Linked DNA regions of Homo sapiens: region 1 is linked to region 2. The links are contacts of gene promoters, found by promoter capture Hi-C in blood cells and fetal thymus (Javierre and others, 2016). All regions are on one chromosome and are shown on one strand. The core of a region is centred on a gene start or on the middle of the fragment in contact, and the rest is flanking DNA. Distances in the headings are between cores, read along the strand shown. Region 1 has its middle 9.1 kb from the start of LINC01433. Region 2 holds the start of HSPA12B (heat shock protein family A (Hsp70) member 12B).

The links. Contacts are between HindIII fragments. The CHiCAGO score rates a contact against its expected background, and 5 or more counts as called.
Region 1: a fragment that was not itself captured here is called in contact with the fragment with the promoter of HSPA12B in region 2 in 1 of 17 cell types (neutrophils); the score reaches 5.1 in neutrophils.

Annotation. Positions count from the first base shown.
Region 1 is chr20:4,200,871-4,203,570 of GRCh38, reverse strand. No RefSeq gene overlaps it. Among named protein-coding and RNA genes, the nearest start is that of LINC01433, 9.1 kb to the right of the region's middle. RefSeq lists a silencer at 1,292-1,492. The HindIII fragment of the contact is 1,798 bases long and covers 456-2,253 here.
Region 2 is chr20:3,731,413-3,734,112 of GRCh38, reverse strand. HSPA12B (heat shock protein family A (Hsp70) member 12B) reads right to left here and starts at 1,428. Exons shown (of 13, transcript NM_052970.5): 1 at 1,319-1,428. RefSeq lists an enhancer at 787-1,366. The HindIII fragment of the contact is 6,119 bases long and covers 1-2,700 here.

The DNA.
Region 1 (2,700 bases), core at 105-2,604, 470 kb before region 2:
CCATCAAAAAAAGAGCAAATAAGGCTGGGCATGGTGGCTCATGCTTGTAATCCCAGCACTTTGGAAGGCCGAGGCGGGCGGATCACTTGAGGCCAGGAGCTCAAGACCAGCCTGGCCAACATGGGGAAACCCTGTCTCTACTCAAAATACAAAAAAATTAGCCGGGCATGGTGGCAGGTGCCTGTATTCCCAGCTACTCAGGAGGCTGAGGCAGGAGAATCGCGTGAAACCAGGAGGCAGAGGTTGCAGTAAGCCAAGATCAGGCCGTTGCAATCCAGCCTTGGCAACAAGAGCGAAACTCCGTCTCAAAAAAAAAAAAAAAAAAAATTAAAATTAAAATTAAAAAAAAGATCAGATAAGAAAAATGTATTATATATAAAAATGCATGAGCTACTACCTCACACAACGACATAATGCATCTCATGAATATAATGCTTCACAAAAGAAGCCAAGCTTCAAAGAACACATTCTGTGAGATTCCAAATATGGAAAGTTCGTGATAGGCAAACAAATTAAAAATGATAGTGTTAGAAGTCAAGTCCTTTTGAAAGTGGGAGGAACTTATGTTTCATGAAAGGGGCTTTGGTAGTGCTGGCCATGTCTCATTTCTTTACCTGCCTCATGGCACAAAGCTGTTCACTCTGATAATTCATCACACATTTATATTTTGAGTAATTATCTCCATGAAGCAGGTTCACTGTGCACTTAGTTACCAACTTGTCTGAGTCCAGTGAGACAAAACACCCACATATGCAACAAGTTACATGAAGAGGATCTATTACTTACAGATAGGCACCAAGGGATAACAGAAGCCTAGGGTTCATTGTGAGCTGGTCACCTAAGGCTCAGGAAAGCAGCCTGGGGCAGATGGAGTCTCAACTGTGCATGCCCCACTTGCACTGCAGCTGAGGGCTCCCAAGAAGCAGCCCACCTGGGCTTTATACCCCGGAGATACATGATTCACTGGACTAAAGTGTTGAAGGACATCCTGTTTCTTTTTTTTTTTTTTTTCTTGAGACGGAGTCTCGTTCTGTGGTCAAGACTGGAGTGCAGTGGCACGATCTCGGATCACTGCAACCTCCGCCTCCCAGGTTCAAGCGATTTCCCTGCCTGGCCTCCCAAGTAGCTGGGATTACAGGCGTCCAACATCACACCAGGCTAATTTTTTGTATTTTAGTAGAGACGGGGTTTCACCATGTTGGCCAGGTTGGTCTTGAACTCCTGACCTCAGGTGATCCACCCACCTCAGCCTCCCAAAGTGCTGGGATTACAGGCGTGAGCCACCGAGCCCAGACAGGACATCCTGTTTCTGACAAGGACTGGAACAGAGCGCAGGCAGTTGCAGCCAATCCCTCCTTATCACAGGATGTTACATTCCCAGCACATTCTACAGTTATTTTGAGAACTACAAGCAAGAAAGGGGGAAGAGCTGGGTTGGTCCAAGGCCACCAGGAGAACTGTCCTGCACTCTGTATGCTATGTTTCAGTATACAAAGTTGAAGAAAGGCCAGGTGCAGTGTCTCATGCCTGTAATCCTAACACTTTGGGAGGCCAAGTCAGGAGGACTGCTTGAGCCCAGGAGTTCAAAGTGGAAGCCTGGGCAACACAGTGAGACCTTCACTCTAGAAATAATTTTAAAAATTAGCTAGGTGTGGTGGTGCATGCCTGTGGCCCCAGCTACTCAGGAGGCTGAGGTGGGAGGATGGCTTGAGCCCAGAAGATTGAGGCTGCAGTGAGCCATGATCACACCACTGCACTCCAGACTGGGGGACAGAGCAACAGCCTGTCTGGGAAAAAAAAAAAAAGTTGAAGTAAAAATGAGAAAGAATCATAGACCAAAGAGATTTAGGATATAGCAATGGTTCCTAATCAAATCTGTCTATGATGATTCAGGCTGGGCACACCTATAATCCCATCACTTTGGGAGGCAGAGGGGGGTGGACAACTTGAGGTCAGGAGTTCCAGACCAGCCTGGCCAACATGATGAAACCCTATCCCTACTAAAAATAAAAAAAAAAAAAAAAAAAAAAGCCAGGCATAGTGCAGCGTGCCTGTAATCCCAGCTGCTCCCAGAGGCTAAGGCAGGAGAATCACTTGAACCCGGGAGGCGGAGGTTGCAGTGAGCCAAGATAGGCCACTGCACTCCAGCTTGGGTGACAGAGTGAGACTCCATTTCAAAAAAAAGAAAGAAAAAAACATCTCTCTTTGATGATTCAGAAGGTAATCTTCATGCCTCACAGGCATTGCTAAGCTTTTTTATTGAATCCTGGAAGTGTGAAAATTTGATGGTGGAGAATATATTGTAACATAATAACTGTGCAAGGACATAAAATGGCAAGTTTAAGGAAATAGACGTGCGGACAAATTGTCCAAAAAGTTATTCCTAAAATATGGCATACCCCGTGAAATTGATTAATCTGGGTAAGTTCACTGTCCCAGAACCTCTTGAATAAAAGGAAGGCTGGGTACACTTGCCCCACATGCTTTGTTTTGTAAACATCTTCGTTCTACAAAAGTATCTGTGTGATTGTTCACTAGGTAGGAAAAAAAACCTTTCAGAGATTAAAAAACACTGATCACAGTGGGGGCCATGTAGCTAGTAAGTTAATGGAGCTTTGACCGAAGGCTGTCTTGCAGTAGCCCAAGAAATCTGAACCCCTGCAGGGTTAGTTCCCCAGTTCCTGCCTGAAGAGCAAAGGC
Region 2 (2,700 bases), core at 179-2,678:
CACTGCAGCCTCGACCACCTGGCCTCAAGCGATCCTCCCACTTCATCCTCCCAAAGTGCTGGGATTACAGGCGTGAGCCACCTTGCAGGGGCCCAACCCTTTGCCTGACAGAATCCTCGGAGGATCTCTTCCTGTGTGGGGTGTTTCAGCTGGGCGCTCATGTCCCCAGGAGCACTATGGGAATGCAGTGTTCTGGGTTTCAGGGCTCCACACGATGCCTGTGTAGACAAAGAGCCCACCCAGGTCATTCCAGCTCCCCTCCTCACTAGGACCCTGCCTCTTCCGCCTGCTGCTCTCTGCTCAGCACCCAGCCAGCCCTGTAATGGAACAGGACTCCGTCAGCGGGCTAAGTGAGGCCACAGGCGTTTCTTCCAAGCCACAGACTGGGCCAACCAGGGCCCAAAGCACAGATCAGAAACGGCACCCAAAGGGCTGCCCCACTCTGTTCTGGAGAGGAGCCCTTAAGAAGATGGGACCATGTGTGGCTGAGTGAGGTGGCTGCCCCATCCTGCGCTGGGGCAGGGAGTGACAGAAATGGCCTCCCATGGCCCCTCCCTGTCCTCATCTTTGCTTTCCATACATCCTGCCGCACCCCCTTGGGTCCTCATCATGGGAGCAGCCAGTTCACAAACAACAGAGCCCCTCCCATGCTCTGCCCACAGCCCCCCATTACCCCTCTGGCCTGGGATTCCTGCGCTGCGTCTGCTCTCCGGAGGGTCCCTAGTTTCGTGATCACTCCCTTCCAGTCTCTCTCATCAACACACGCTAACCTCACAGATAGGCTCCACTGCCCTAGCGGGAACCTGGACCCCACCCCACCTGGACCTCAAGCTGGCCCGGAAGACCAGGTCCCAGCCTCAGACCCTGGCACCTGGGCCACTCAGTACTCTGTTGCGCTTCGGGACCACAGGGCCTGGGACCCCTGAGGCACCCCCCAACACACACACATACACTCAACTCCCAGGTTTCCACCTCAGACCTAGGCACCGGGTCCCTCAGTTTGGCTCCCTGGAGCAGGCCCCAGCCCACACCAGTCCTGCCAGCCCCTAAGACACAGGAGTTTCTCCAGCCTAAGCCTCTGAGCAGCTGTGCGAGGGACAGGGGAGGTGGTCCCCCGAAGCCCAGGTGGGAGACCAAGGTCGCTGCCCCAAGTGCCTTCCCGAGCCCGCAGCCACGCTGCAGAGAGGGGCTTGCAGATCTGTCCCCACCAGACAAAGTCTGGAGGTTTTTGGTGGGGTCTCAGCCGACAGCCCGGGACGGCAAACCTCCTCGCCTTTCTCCACTCGGGGCGCCCGGCAGCCCCCGCCCCAGAACTCACCTCCGCCCTCCCGACAGCTCCAGCCCCGTCCAGCCGCCGCGATCCCGGGCCCGCAGCTCGTTGGCCGTGCCCGCTGCGGCGGCCGCAGCCCTCGACGTGCGCCCGGCCCTGAGGCCTCCCGCCTCCTCGCGCCGCCCACCCCGCCCGCCGCCCCCTCCCCCAGGCCGGATGGCCGCGCCGCCTGCGCCGCCGGGTCGGCCCGCGCTCCCGGCCCAGATGTGCGAGGCCGGGGCGGGGCCTGCCTGCGCGGGCCTCCGCCGAGGGGCCCAGCCTGGTCCCGCGTCCAGGGCCCCTCCCTGAGCCCCTCCTGCGCCTCCCCCGCTCCCCTAGCAGCCCAGGGGGTGGGAGAAGGGAGAGGGGGCGGCGGAGGGAGGGGAAGAGGAGTTCCAGACCCTGGTCGGCCTCCTGCGGTCCAGCTGCTGAGGGGCTCCCCCGCCCCGCCCCCACAGGCCCACCTTGGGGCTCAGCCTCGGCCCCTTCAGCGAGGGCCCAACAGCGGAGGGGGAAGGGCCCGCCCTAGACCCCTCCACTTCCCTGCCCCAGACCCCTCCAGTCCCTTGACCCGGAACCCTCTCTCCTCCCACCCCTACTGCCCCTACAGCTTCCCTAGCCCGGTCCTCAGTGGCCAGAAAAGAGGCAGAATTGCGGATGAGGGCAGGCCCTCGGGTCCCCAGGCTAGGCCTAGCTCTGTCTTTGCTCAAGTTCAGACGACGGAGGCGCGGAGTCTCACAGACTGAGGCCCCATGCCCGGCAAGGGGACCACTCCGCACCAGGGGGCACCCAGCCTCTCCTCCGAGGCACACAGCCTTTTTCTTGTCCTAACCGGGGCCCTTCTGGGGATGCTGGGACTTGGCCTCCAGACAGGGGGTTTGTGGGGTGAAGGTCTCTTTCTGGGCTGGGAACCCGTGGCTCATGCCTGTAATCCAGCGCTTTGGGAGTCTGAGGTGGGAGGATGGCTTGAAGCTGGCTGGGCAACAAAGACCAGCCTGGGCAACAAAGGGAGACCCTGTCTCTAAAAAGTTTTAAAAATTAGCCAGGTGTAGTAGCTCACGTCTGTAGTCCTAGGTACTCAGGAGGCTGGGGTGGAGGATTGCTTGAGCCCAAGAGTTTGAGGCTGCAGTAAGTGTGATCACACCACCGCACTCCAGCTTGGGTGACAGAGAGAGAACCTGTCATAAATAAATGAATGAACGGATGAATGAATGAATTTCTGCTAGGTCCCTCGTGGAGCTTTCAAAGGCAGCTGACTCGTTCTGCCTGTTCCCCTTCCCCTCTGCCCCATGTGCCCCCACAGAAGTTCCAGATGCTTCTCAGTCCACCTCCCTTTGTGCCTGGGAAGGCTGCCCGTCAGAGAAGGGCCCCACAGCCCCATCAAATGAGGC